Linked DNA regions of Homo sapiens: region 1 is linked to region 2. Evidence: promoter capture Hi-C in 16 types of primary human blood cells and fetal thymus (Javierre and others, 2016). All regions are on one chromosome and are shown on one strand. The core of a region is centred on a gene start or on the middle of the fragment in contact, and the rest is flanking DNA. Distances in the headings are between cores, read along the strand shown. Region 1 overlaps TP53BP2 (tumor protein p53 binding protein 2). Region 2 holds the start of CNIH4 (cornichon family member 4).

Evidence for each region. Contacts are between HindIII fragments. The CHiCAGO score rates a contact against its expected background, and 5 or more counts as called.
Region 1: a fragment that was not itself captured here is called in contact with the fragment with the promoter of CNIH4 in region 2 in 4 of 17 cell types (naive B cells, total B cells, monocytes and 1 more); the score reaches 7.2 in naive B cells.

Annotation. Positions count from the first base shown.
Region 1 is chr1:223,830,663-223,838,120 of GRCh38, forward strand. All of the region lies in intron 1 of TP53BP2 (tumor protein p53 binding protein 2), which reads right to left. Among named protein-coding and RNA genes, the nearest start is that of TP53BP2, 12 kb to the right of the region's middle. The HindIII fragment of the contact is 3,367 bases long and covers 3,172-6,538 here.
Region 2 is chr1:224,350,834-224,358,296 of GRCh38, forward strand. It overlaps CNIH4 (cornichon family member 4), which reads left to right and starts at 6,046. Exons shown (of 5, transcript NM_014184.4): 1 at 6,046-6,160. The coding sequence starts at 6,092. RefSeq lists enhancers at 5,699-5,838, 6,396-6,896 and a silencer at 6,119-6,488. The HindIII fragment of the contact is 2,727 bases long and covers 4,913-7,463 here.

The sequences.
Region 1 (7,458 bases), core at 3,605-6,104, 520 kb before region 2:
GAAAAAGTTAAGTAAATTAAAATCATTTGCCAGAAGGACTATGTCCAGCCACCAACTCCTGTAAGTATAAATAGAGTGTTAGGAAAATGTTAAGAAAAAGTTATAAAACAGAACAATACTAAGTGTTTTTAACTTTAAAAATATATGTACCATCGGCCGGGCACAGTGGCTCACGCCTGTAATCCCAGAACTTTGGGAGGCCGAGGCAGGAGGATCACGAGGTCAGGAGATCAAGACCATCTTGGCTAACACGGTGAAACCCGTCTCTACTAAAAATACAAAAAAATTAGCCGGGCATGGTGGCGGGCGCCTGTAGTCCCAGCTACTCAGGAGGCTGGGGCAGGAGAATGGCATGAACCTGGGAGGCGGAGCTTGCAGTGAGCCGAGATCGCGCCACTGCACTCCAGCCTGGGAGAGAGAGTGAGACTCTTTCTCAAAAAGCAGGCAGGGTGGCTCCTGCCTGTAATCTCAGTATTTTGGGAGGCTGAGGCGGGAGGATCACTTCAGGCCAGGAGCTAGAGGCCAGCCTGGGCAACACAGTAAGACCCCATTTCCCCATTTATATTAAAAAAAAAAAAAAAAATAGCTCGGTGTGGTAGCATGTACCTGTAGTCCGTCCTAGCTACTGAAGAGGCCGAGGTGGGAGGATCACTTGACCCCAGGAATTCAAGGTTATAGTGAGCTATGATCATGCCACTACACTCCAGCTTGGGCGACAGAGCAAGACGCTGTCTCCCAAAAAAAAAAAAAAAAGTAAAAATATGTGTGTCTGTGTGTACACATGCACACACATATGTACCATCTAAAAAAAAAAAAAAATATATATATATATATATATATATATATATATATATACTGACCTGTATGAAATACACAGAAAATCAGCGACACCAGAGGCAAGTATAGCTATCACTTTTAAATTTTTAAAATCTCAACAGTAAAATATTTTTATAATAATGTATAATTTAAAAGTATAGTTAATACAAACTGGGATAAAAGAACATGAAAATATTTCATTAAAAATGGTAAATGTGATTACAACTTGTTTCTACCTCCTATAGTCATCTATCTCAAGAGAAGGAAAGTCGAAGGAAAGATAAAAAAAAAAAAAAAACACTGTGTTAAGTTGTGCCAGGCCACCTACAGGCACACTGCATAGTAATTCATGTCAGTCATATCTAGATGAAGATGTGCCCTTCCAAAAATTCAAAGTCACAGATAATTTTCATTTAAAAACAATGGGTCATAGATTTATTTTAAGAGTCCTGTGTTTATAGAGCATGTATGTACTGTAACTATGATGTTATGCTATCAACATAAGAATGACTCATTTTAAAGAGGAATTATTTCAGATCAAAATCTGAAAGACTTTTCTAAGAGGAAATACAAAAAAAAAACTGATTAGGGCATTTACAAGATGAGTCAGAGGCTAACATTTATTCATTTGATTCAGAAAATCATGTGAAGTTCTACAGAAAGAAGAAAGGAACCAAGAGTATAAGATGTTCCCTGTCACCAAAGGGAAATTACGCTCTACAACAGCACCTTCAGAGTTTTCATTTACAAAAACTCAAATCCTTCAAGTTTACCTAAGAGGAAGAAACAGAAAATTATGAAATGAACAATCTATAAAAAGAGTGACACAAATCCTCCCCAAATTTTGCAACTCACAAGAAATACCACAGGAATAGCCAGGCGATTATGCTTGTAGAGAGATTAGGGGAAAATCTGAATGGTTTCTGTGTTTCACAATTCCTCTGCAGAAAGATAAATGTAAAACTATTACTTCAGTTTCTATATTTTGTTGTACCCCTTATGGAGGCAGGCCCGAAAATATTTCTTGTAAGAGGAGAATGCCACTAGGCTTCCTATAACCCAGTCAAGCAAAAACACCTCTCCCAACACTGTGATACAGAGTGGGGATTAAATTAAGATATAACCAAAGTTTCTTTCAAACTCATACACAGCCATTTAGCCCAACTATGACTTCTAACACTGGGCGGGGTTTAGGAAGGAGATGCCGACCCTTCCAGTCCTCAAGAGTACTCTGCCTGTCTCTGCACAGACCTGGAGCTCTGCTCCAATGCTCACTCTGCCAGCTGAGTCTGCACACCAAGGGCACTCATGAGCTTGGCTCCCTAATTCAGACATGCTGCACCCTAGCTGTGAGCTAGGCTGCCAGTCTTCTGCAAGAAGTGTGCTGCTCCACTACCCCAGCTTGAGCTTGAGCTGTCCTTCCTCGTCTCCCCAATATCTGAGTAGGCAACCCACAGGGGTCTCTGTGGAACCTTCCTCAGGAGCCACAGGGACACTACATATTTGAGTCCTTTCCCTCAAAGAGACACTCTCTACCTCCCTGACGATGGGTCCCAACCTTATTAAAGTTATCAGAGAATCACTGCTTACAAAGGCCTATCATGATTTCTTAGCTGTTTCTCTAGAGTTTACTCTTGGAGCCATTAAACTGCTTTTAAAAATATTCACCAATTACCATAAGTTATGTATACCGATGTTCTATTAAGGCTCAATGATATTAAACCTACTTCTACACTAAGTGTACCACTTTATATGATGGCATATTTTTAACATTAACCCATCAGTTCCTATCAGTTACATCTGAGTTTATTTAAAGCAAAATCATAAAGTCATATTCAAAGGATTTTTTTTACTTCATAAACTATTCCTTTGCTCACTTACAGCAAGTTAGTAGAATTCAGAAATCAATAACGTGAAGTCTCAATATCAATTTGAACAATATTCTGTTAAAAATGTTAATCAGGCATGGACTATCCTGACCATCCATTCAATATCATCTGGAGCACACAATCATATTCTGAAATAGTCAACATTCTGGAAAAAAATGATAGAGCAAATATGAAGTAGTTACTTTAATTAAGGAAAAAATCATAAAGTAGCCTGCTGGTCATAGATGTCTGGTAAAAGAACCACTTCATATACATGAATAGGTAACAGGGACCTCTACATAGAAACCTATAGGAGTCATATCCTATCAAAGCCAGCCATGCCAAAGAAGCTCCTGGTTCTATGCCTTCCCCTCAATCCTAACTTCTTGCTGACTTCAACAAGAAGTTTCGTTCATTCACCCGTTAGTACTTACTAAATACCTATTAAGAAAGGACAGTTAAAGCAAAAGGAACACAGTGATGAAAAAGCTTGCCTTCTTTAGGGCAGAGAAGAGAGGCTGGTAGCACACAAATGAGCATGGTATATAAAGCGATATGATAAAGAATTATGGAAGTGATGAGGGGAGGATGGCTGATCATGATTAGGAAAGACACCTCAGGGTGAAGGGGACTTTTGAGCTGAGACTGAAGAAGCCACAGCCACTTGAAACATCTGAAGGAAGACATTTCATCAAAGGCCCAGAGGTGGTAATGAACTTGGACTATTCCATGACCAGAAAAAAACGCCACATCAGGAATACAGACTTATGCCAATGAGGGCAGGGAGAACAGGGGGTAGCTCAGGCAGGGCCTTGTAGGTCAAGAATAAGGAGTACGGACTTTATTGCAAGGGAAAAGTCACTAGAGTAGTGATTTACAACATGCAATTCTCAGACAAACAGCATAAGCATCACCTGGGAACTTGTCAGAAATATAAAGTTCCAGGCCCTGCTCCACATCTCCTGATTCAGAAACCCCAGAGGAGAGGCCCAGTACTCACACTTAAGTTTAAGAACCACTGCATTAGAGGGTTTTGAGCAGGGAAGTAACATGAAACTAGGTTTCTGAGTAATTTGCTGCAAATAATGTAGAGTATTAATTTCACTAGCAGATAACAACAGTGTGTATTAATCTATGTAGTATATATTAATTATAATACCAGTAGTTAACCCAACAACAATAGCAATACATTATGACACATATACACTGGTATTTATATTTGCATATTTTGAATTTCAGGGAATTCCATTTCAATTACAAGAAATATTAAGACCTAAAATTTATTTTAAATTATCTACTCCACAGTTATAGCCTCGAGTCACCAAATGAGGAATCTAAAATAGCCACTTTTCCTCACTTCTCTCCCCAGAGTAGCTCACCTGATTCCTACTCTGTCCTGTAGTGTCAATTCATCCCCATCCTTCCAGAATAACTCAAAGACCATAAAACTTCCTCCAATCCATCCATCCCTACCCACACACTCACCTCCAGCCAGAAGTAAATGTTCTCTTTGCTTCTCTGACAACCATTCACACTGTAGTTGTCTGTATCCCTGTCTTATCTGTCCTACTGGTCTATACATTCTTTAGTACACATGTTTTGGTTCTTAAATGCCTCCTCCCTGGTTTTCCTCCTCCTACATTATAACTCACTCCCCAAAAAACTCTGTCAGATCTCACACAAAGCAAATATGCAATACATGTTTGTTGGACTGAACTGAAACTGTGACGCAGGGATTCAAAGTTCCACGAAGAGGAGAAAGTTAACAGGCAACAAGAACATGACAAAGAGGATGTTCACATCCTGAAGCATCAAGAAATGTTTATCTATAAATGGTATTACTTCACAGTGAATGTTTTCAAAGCCAGACAATGTCTCAAAGAATTCTGCTTTAAGTAAAATTAAGAAACCTTTTCTCTTCTTTCAACTATGCCTGAAGCTGAATTTAGATAAGTTTCAAATTCTGAACGTATCCTCTAAAGCAACTCATCTTAGGTTACTCTGCTTCAATATCTGTCATAAACAATCAATGTATAAAGCAAAAGAACAAATACATTTAGTTAATTCCTCCCCGGCTCCAACTATTGATAAGTTTAGTGTTGGTGTGCTTCCTTCTAAACTGAGTCTTGTTTGCCAGGCATTCGTCTTATTTTATGTAAAGGTACTGTTACAGATTTCATTCTGTTTTTTACTTTTACTCACTAAGCACTACATTTTTAAGATCTATCCGTGATGATCTAACTACAACCGATCCATTGCTTCTAGTTATTTCCTTCCTACCTCCCACTTTGCTATGGAAGTAGAGGCAAGAACTACACTCACCAAAGAAAATCCAAAATAAGAATATTCATTCATCCATTAACTCAAACAATATTTATTAAATCCCTACAGTGTGCCAAACACTGTGCTAAGTGCTAGAAACACAAAGATGAAAAGGCATGCTCCATGTCCTCACAGAGCTTATGGAACAATGAAGAAGCACTGCAAACCACGAAAAGGGTGCAATGTTGAGAAATGAGAACTTCCTGGTGAAAGTACATTTAAAGCATTTGAAGTCCAGTGAGAACAGAAAAAAAAATCCCCTCCAAGCAGTGGAAGAAGGCTTAACATAAAAGAAGTACTATTAAGCTAAAACTGTAGGATGAATAAGACAAGCAGGAAGAGGACCATCTAGGGAGAGAAACACTGTGTATAAAGACACAGGAAACTGTGGCATGCCCTCACAACTATAGTCCTGGAACTGTTGAAGCACAGAGGTGGGACGCAAGGCAGGACAAAGAAGAGATGGGTCAATTCCCAACCCACAAGCCACGAATGTGCTGCAAAAACTTTCAATGCACAAAATTTGTTTTATACACATGCTGTTATGGCAAAGTCCGATGGAGCGGAGCACGTCATGGAGGGCAATATGCAAGAGTGGAGAGCAATATGCAACAGAGTACAACTTGCTGTGAGCAAGAGGAAACACAATTCCGAAGGAAGGCCGAATGAACCACGAGGTGACCGGATGCTCTTCTGCACAGCACAAGGCATTCCCACTACTGTGCCATAGCTGGTGCTATGTTTTAATAACTGACTTGGTGTTTTGAGTTTTTCAATCATTTCCATTATGCAGCTAAAAATTCTGAAATGGAAATGTATCAATGACACAAAAAGGCTGAAATCCACTGGGCTACACAATAAAGAAACTTTCTATCTCACTAAAGAGTTTATATATTTTATGCTGTAAGGAACAGAGGTCAGACTTGAAGAATTCTGGAGAGGGAAGAGACACATTGCTGTTTCAGAAAGACCACCAGGGAAGCAGTGTGTTAAATGGCCTGATGGGGCAGAGAACAGAAAAGGTAAGAAAATAGATAAGGAGAGCATTACAACAGTCCAGGCAGGAGAGGGGTGAGGCCAAACAGGTGCCCCAGGAAATGGAGAAGAGGGATCTGTGTGCCCTGGTGACTCAACAGCTCCAGGAGAAGACAGAAGAGAGGAAAAGCAGCAGGATGAAAGCCCAGGTCCGTGGCTACTAAAAGCAACAAGCAAAACCTACCAGAGAAAGATCCTATCTACCTTTAAAATAAATGCATTATCCAAAATAGATACCCCCCAAACTTTTCAGGAAATTAACAAAATTTTTGAAAATTACCTACATATCACAAACTAAGCAGTTATTATCTAGATTTTGTTGTGATGCAGAAAACACTGCCACAAAGAGACCGTTCTAGAATTAAAGTTAACTCAGACTTGATTTTCCTAGGTCACTCGCTACTTTGTGTCAGGAAAATGAAGATACTATTGTTTTAAAATTAAAAAAAAAAGGGGGGGGGCGGGGGGTCAAGGAACTTTTAGGTTGAAGCATCAGAAGCTTCCAGAGCACTCTGGTCATGTGGTCAAAAGTAAAGCTGTCCTAAAGCATTTTAAGACAGACTATGGCTTCCTTGAGAAACCTGATACACCCTACTCAGTTGAAAAGAAACATGGTGACAGAAGGCTTTTTCTCAAGCCTAAATTTAAACTGCTCTGTGTAGCTGTCAGAGCTCTGTGGTGATATAAAAAGTATGGTTTCTCTTTAGCCCCATAGGAAGGAGCTTGTGGATACAGGAGTGATCTTCCACCATTCCTGTCTGGTCTTACTTCCAACCCCGGGTAAGTGCTACTGTTTCTCCTCTCACCCCTGGGGCTTCTGAGGGTCACTAAAACAATTTATTAGAGCAAGTGACAAACTCTTGAGTGCCTTCACAACCAATTCTGTCAGCTGGGCCTTAGGTGTGGTAAAAAATAAAAAATAAATAAAATTAAAACCCTTTAATTTATTTTTGGCAGCTTTCTGTAGACTTTCCTACTCTTCCCACCTTGCCCAAGTCTTACACTCTGGCACCTCTAAGGTCCACTGTCCACACAGCAACAGAGTGAGCTTTCCTAATCAATCAGGTTGTCACTTTTGCTAACTAAACCTCTTCTGTGGCTCCCACGTCCCTTCCCATGCCACCTCCACCCTTCCCTCTGGCCCGCGAAAACCTATATGCTGACAGGTCTTTTGCTTCGGCTCTTGTCACTCTGCCCTCTGCCCACGAAGCCCTGCCCCGCCCCCGCCGCCCCTCTCCCCTTGCCCCAGCCTCCAGTGCTTCCTCCCGGCCTCTGCACCAGTCCCTAGGAATCGTGCCCACTTGAAATGCTCCACCTGCAAATCTTCACAGGACCAGCTCCTTCTTGTCATTCAGGTCTCAGCTGAAATGTCACTTCCTGACCATCCAATCTAAAGTAGCCATCGCAGTCACATTAC
Region 2 (7,463 bases), core at 4,796-7,295:
CCCAGGATAAAATAGCAGATAAAGAATGTGAAATATGGTCCAGCACAGTGGCTCACGCTTGTAATCCCAGCACTTTGGCAGGCCAAGGTGGGCAGATCACTTGAGGCCAGGAGTTTGAGACCAGCCTGGCCAACATGGCGAAACCCCGTCTCAACTGAAAACACAAAAATTAGCTTTGTCTTTTCATATAAATTTTGGAATATGGTTAAGATTTCTGCAAAAAATGCTACTATTGTTGCATGGTGGCATGTGCCTGTAGTCCCAGCCACTTGAACTGGGGAGGCGGAGGTTGCAGCGAGCTGAGATGGCATTACTGCACTCTAGCCTGGGCGACAGAGTGGGACTCTTGCCTCAAAAAAAAAAAAAAAAAAAATGCGAAATAGCTTGTATTTCCTACTCCATCTCGGGGAATACATGTGAGATGAGGTTTATGATTTTGATAAAATCTGGACTAATATAAATAAAATCTGTCATGATAGTGTGGATCATTCATTCAGGAACCATTTATTAACCACCAGCTATTTATAGAATAGAAAGTATTGGGATATAAAAATTAATAAAATCTGTTACTTTTATCATAATCTAAAGCAGGGGTGTCTAATCTTTTGGCTTCTTTGGGCCACACTGGAAGAATTGTCCTGGGCCACATATAAAACACACTAACACTAATGATAGCTGATGAGATGAAATAAAAAAAATGGCAAAAACAATTTCATAACGTTTTAATAAAGTTTATAAATTTATGGTAGATTGCATTCAATGCCGTTCTGGACCACATGTGGCGTATGGGCAATGGGCTGAACAAGCTTGATCAAACGTGTTCTGTCCAGAATTGGTGGGTTTTTGGTCTCACTGACTTTAAGAATGAAGCCACGGACCCTCGTGGTGTTACAGCTCTTAAGGTGGCACATTTGGAATTTGTTCCTTCTGATGTTCAGATGTGTTCGGAGTTTCCTCCTTCCGGTGGGTTCGTGGTCTCACTGGCTCAGGAGTGAAGCTACAGACCTTCGCGCTGTCACAGCTCATAAAGGCAGCGTGGACCCAAAGAGTGACAAACAGCAGGATTTATTGCAAAGAGCAAAAGAACAAACCTTCCACACTGTGGAAGTGGACCCGAGTGGGTTGCCACTGCTCGCTGGGGCAGCCTGCTTTTATTCTCTTATCTGGCCCCACCCACATCCTGCTGATTGGTAGAGCCCAGTGGTCTGTTTTGACAGGGTGCTGATTGGTGCCTTTACAATCCCTGAGCTAGACACAAACGTTCTCCACATCCGCACCAGAGTAGCTAGATACAGAGGGTGGACTGGTGCATTCACAAACTCTGAGCTAGACACAGGGTGCTGATTGGTGTGTTTACAAACCTTGAGCTAGATACAGAGTGCCGATTGGTGTATTTACAATCCCTGAGCTAGACATAAAGGTTCTCCAAGTCCCGACCAGAGTAGCTACATACAGATTGTCGATTGGTGCATTCACAAACCCTGAGCTAGACACAGGGTGCTGATTGGTGTGTTTACAAACCTTGAGCTAGATACAGAGTGCCAATTGGTGTATTTACAATCCCTTAGCTAGACATAAAGGTTCTCCACGTCCCCACCAGACTCAGGAGCCCAGCTGGCTTCACCCAGTGGATTCACCACGGGGGCTGCAGGTGGAGCTGCCTGCCAGTCCCGTGCCGTGCGCCGGCATTCCTCAGCCCTTGGGTGGTGGATGGGACTGGGCGCCGTGGAGCAGGGAGCGGCGCTCGTCGGGGAGGCTCGGGCCGTACAGGAGCCCACGGAGGTCGGGGAGGCTCAGGCATGGCGGGCCGCAGGTCCCGAGCCCTGCCCGGCGGGAAGGCAACTAAGGCCCGGTGAGAAATTGAGCACAGCAGCTGCTGGCCCAGGTGCTAAGCCTCTCACTGCCCAGGGCCGGCGGGGCCCGCGGGGCCGGCTGGCAGCTCCCAGTGCAGGGCCCGACGAGCCTACGCCCACCCAGAACTCGCGCTGGCCCACAAGCACAGCACGCAGCCCCGGTTCCCGCCCGCGCCTCTGCCTCCACACCTCCCCGCAAGCTGAGGGAGCCGGCTCCGGCCTTGGCCAGCCCAGAAGGGGGCTCCCACAGTGCAGCGGCGGGCTGAAGGACTCCTCAAGTGGCGCCAAAGTGGGAGCCCAGGCAGAGGAGGCGCCGAGAGCGAGCGAGAGCGAGTGAGGGCTGTGACGATTGCCAGCACGCTGTCACCCCTCAGTGTGACTGGCTAAGCACATAAGGAAGATAGTTGATGAGTATTTTTTTTCACCTTAAGATAACTGAGTATGTAATGAATATTCTGATAGAGATATGTACAAGGTACAATGGGAGTTTGGTAATAGCTGGTTTAATTAATTAGATAATCTGTTAATTGTATGTCTAGCTTTAACCTGTGAACCCTTTATGAATCTATGAACCTGTACTGCATCAGGCAAATCCAGTTGGGTTTTTGTGTTTTTTGTTGTTGTTGTTTGCTTATTTTTTTGAGACATAGTTTCATTTTGTTGCCCAGGCTGGAGTGCAATGGAGCAATCTCAGCTCACTGCAACCTCCACCTCCTGGGTTCAAGTGATTCTCCTGCCTCAGCCTCCCAAGTAGCTGGGATTACAGGCATGCACCACCACCCCTGGCTAATTTTGTATTTTTAGTAGAGACGGGGTTTCTCCGTGTTGGTCAGGCTGGTCTCGAACTCCCGACCTCAGGTGATCCGCCCGCCTCGGCCTCCCAAAGTGCTAGGATTACAGGCGTGAATCACCGCGCCCGGCTCAGTTGGTTTTGCCTTCATAGTAATTCTCCTGTTCTACTCTCCATGTGATCTCCCTGCTGACAAACTTGTTTCCCTTTCACACATTCAGTGCGCTAAATAGCCAGAATGAGATTTTAAAAATGTAAATCAGATTAAGCTACTTTTTTGCTTAGAACTCTGCAGTGGTTTCTCATCATATTAGGATAAAAATCCTTGCCAAGGGTCTACAGGGCCCATATAACCTTACCCTGCCTCCTTCTCTTCCTCTCAGCACTCTCTCACCCTTTTCCCCTGTGCTTTAGCCACAAGACCACAGTAGTCTTTTTTTCTATTCCTTTAACACATCAAGCCTCTATATACAACTGGGCCTCTGAAATTATTGTTCCTACTTTCTGAAACATTCTGCCCGCAGACCTTCACATAGCTATTGTTCAAATTTCTACTTAAGTGTCATTTCCTCAGCTTGGCTTTCTCTGATCACTCCGTCTTTCCCCATCCCCTTCCAAGTACTTATGACTGCCTGTCATTAGTATATTTATTTTGTCGTCTGTCTTTCTCACTGTAATGTAAACCACAGGCTTGTGGGGACTTTTCCCAAGGTTTGGAACAGTAGCTCATATATTCTGGCTGCTCAGAAAATATTGGTTGAATGAATAAATAACTTTGACACAACCGCTCACAGAGCTTATCACTGCTTGAAGTTATCTTTTTCCCATACTTTGTTATACTTTATTGCCTGTTCCTCCCACTCACCCTACTAGAGCAGCAACTTGTTTGCCTTGTTTATTTTTATATCTCTGGAGTCTAGAGCAGTTCTTGGCCTATAGCAGGTGTGTTGTCAGTAAATACAGCAGTCTCATCCACAGTTTTGCTTTCACTGGTTTCATTTACCTGAGGTCAATCACAGTCCTAAAATGTTAAATGGAAAATTTCAGAAATATACAATCCATGAATTTTAAATTGTGTGCCACTCTTAGGAGTGTAATGAAATCTCCTGCTGCTCACTTCATCCTGCCTGGGACATGAATTATCTATCCCCTTGTCCAGCATATCCATGCTGTCTATGCCACCTACCTGTTAGTCACGTAGTAGCCATCTTATCAGTTATCAGATTGACTGCAGCAGTATTGCAGTGCTTATGTTCAAGTACCCATTATTGTACTTAACAATGGCCCAAAGTTCAAGAGCAGTGAATACTGGCAATTCAGATATGCCAAAGAGAAGCCATGAAGTGCTCCCTTTAAGTGAAATGGTCAAAGTTCTTGACTTAAGGAAAGAAAAAAAAACCCTATGAGACTGCTAAGATCTATGGTAAGAACCAGTCTTTTATCTGTGAATTTCTGAAAAAGGAAAAAGGAATTTGTGCTAGTTTTGCTGTTGCAACTCAGACTACAAAAGTTATGGCCACAGTGCCTGATAAGTGCTTAGTTAAGATGGAAAAGGCGGCACAGCACAGTGGCTCATGCCTGTAATCCCAGCACTTTGGGAGGTCAAGGTAGGTGGATCACTTGAGGCCAGGAGTTTGAGACCAGCCTGGCCAACATGGCGAAACCCCAACTCTACTAAAAATACAAAAAATTATCTGGGTGTGGTGGCATGCACCTGTAATCTCAGCTACTCCGGAGGCTGAGGCAGGAGAATCGCTTGAACTTGGGAGGTGGAGGTTGCAGAGAGCTGAAATGGCGCCACTGCACTCCAGCCTGGGTGACAGAGTGAACTTCATCTCAGAAAAACTAAAACAACAACCACAAAAAAGATGGAAGAGGCATTACATTTGTGGGTGGAAGACATGAACAGAAAACATGTGCCAATTGATGGCAACGTGTTGAGCCAGAAAGTATTGAGCCTATACAAAGACTTCAGTGAGGGATTCCCTAAAACGAGTGATACCAAGCCACTTACTGCAAGTAATGGATAGTTACATGAATGTAAGAATAGATTTGGACTGAAAAATATAAAAATCACTGGAGAGGCTGCATCTGTCTCTTCATCTTATCACATAGGCATTTTATCATCATACATCATCTCAAAAAGAAGGGTCAGTACAATAAGATATTTTGAGACAGAAAGACCACATTTACATAACTTTTATTACAGTATAATTGTTCTATCTTATTATTACTTGTTAATCTCCTACTGTGCCTGATCTATAAATTAAGCTTTATCATAGGTATGTATATATAGGAAAAAACATAGTACACATAAGGTTTGGTACTATCCATCGTGTCAGGCATCCACTTGGGGGTCTTGGAAAGTAGCCCCTGCAAATACAACTGTATTTGTTAAATGAATGAATGGATGAGTAAGACATCGTATTCACTTCTTAAAGATCTTAAAATCTAGAGAGGAGAGAAACATTGCTGTAGGAGAGGATAAACAAAGGACTGTGAAATCTCTGGAGAAATTGAAATCAGGAAGGGAAGGGCAAATCGCAAAAGTCAAGCCAGGAGCATTAAGTTAGATTTGTGCTTTGAGATGAAAACCCCTTACAAATCCTAAGTCAGGGAATGCAATGGTTCTAGAGCCAACTCTAAAGAAAATTTCACACATGGGAAATACATCCTACTGGATATCCGGATTAAAAGCGTTCAGTAGAGACTGGTGCAGTGGCTCAGGCCTGTAATTCCAGCACTGTGGGAGACTGAGGCAGGCAGATCGCTTGAGCCGAGGAATTCGAGACCAGCCTGGGCAACATGGCAAAAACCCCATCTCTATTAAAAATACAAAAAATTAGCCAGGCGTGGTGGTACATTCCTGTAATCCCAGGTACTCAGGAGGCGGAGGTGGGAGGATCACCTGAGGCCAGGAGGTAGAGGCTGCAGTGAGCTGTGACCATGCCACTGCACTCCAGCCTGGGCGACAGAGTGAGACCCTGTCTCAAAAAATAAAATAAAATGAGAAATAATAAAATAAAATTAGCTGGGCATGTCGGGAGGCTGAGGTGGAAGGATTGCTTGAGCCCAGGAATTCGAGGTCATAGTGAGCTCTATCACGCCACTGCACTCCAGCCTGGACGACAGAGCAAGACCCCAGCTCTTTAAAAGAAAAGCGTTGAGTAAATACTTGTTGATTAATTCCATTTCTGGAAATAATCGGATTTATGAAAGAGGCCCTGCCCACCTCTTTGATATGGACTTGTACTAATGAACTACAATTCCCAGCATGCGTCAGAATTAGGGCCGTAGAGTTTTTTAAAATATGGACTACAACTCCCGGCATGCCACACCAGGATTCGAGGACCACACGCCTCAGCCAGCCCCGGCAAGGGCCTATCAGGGGTGGGTCGGGGCATCCGAGCGGGTTTGACGGAAGGAGCGGCGGCGACGGAGGAGGAGGATGGAGGCGGTGGTGTTCGTCTTCTCTCTCCTCGATTGTTGCGCGCTCATCTTCCTCTCGGTCTACTTCGTATCCTTGCCTGAGGCAGGCGAACGCCTTGCCGGGGGACACGGCTGAGGGTGGGCCAGTTGGGCACCCGGGCAGGTGTGTGGGACTAGGGAGGCGCCCGGCGGCGGGCGTGGGCTCCCTGGGAGCTGGCCTGGCCGGGGCGGTGGCGCGGGCCCCGGAGCGGGTAGGAGAGGCTGGCTGCCCTACCCGACGGGCCCTGCTGCCCTGCACGCACTTGCCCTGCCTGGGTTGCCGGCCGCCCCTCACTCGGGTCCGAGTGGGCCTCTCCGGGCGCGCCCCGTCTCGGCCTGCCCGCCTGCTCTCCGCTCGTCCCCGCGGCGCCCGGACCAGCCCTGCCTGAGCCACGGCCGCCCTCGGGAGAGAAGCGTCGCTGTTTTTCTGGGAGAGGCCCTGCGCCGTGCTCTTCGTCGGATATTGGGGGTCCCAAGGGCGGTCGCTTGCGACAGTCGGGTGCCGGGATAAGTGCGGGCCATTTGCCTCCTCCTGTTCCCCACGCAACACCCCCGGCACCCGCCCCTTTGTTCTGGCGGGTGTTAGTACTTGCAGGGACCTTTCACATCCAGGAGTTGACTCATTCGCCAAAGGAGCGAAGTTGCTTCCTTCACTGTGCCGTTTTGTAGTGAGTGTTGGAAAGGAGTTGTTTTAACAACTGTCTACAAAGTGATTATTTTGGTTGTCCCCGGTGGTTGCAGATCTGTAAATTCAATAACTACATCTGCTGTAGTTCCCAATCGTTTCTCAGCTTTTAAATTTTTCTATCGATCCATGTTAAAACTTAAGTTGCAGTATTCAAACTGTTTTCCAGAGCAATAAATGGTGGTTGAATTTAGCACTGCAGTAGCCATGTCGGCTACAACTCTTCCCATCTCTTGACAAAGCATCTAGGCTTAGTTGTTGCCCAATGTTGTATTGCACCATCCAGGTTTAAGTAATTAAATATAAGAAAAAACGTATGAGGAACTCCGCATTTCAGCTTCCTTTCTTGGAAATCACATGTACCTGTTTCTGATCGGATTAAACCATTTGTTTGCTAGAGCATGCGGGCTTTAGGATAGTCGTACAGAGTATATGTTCAGTGCAGCTTCATTTTTCATTGTGGACTGGCATCCTGTTGTAGTGGAAAGGGACAAAATTTGGAATCAGATTTCCTGGTCAGCTAGCTCTTTGCTTGCACATTATTTCCCTAAGCCTCAGTTTTCTGATCTTTAAAATAGGAAATGTTTATTTCCTAGATATGCACAATGAGAATGGTGCTGAGCACCCTAGCACAGTGCCTGCCCCATAGCTAATGTTCAGTAAATAT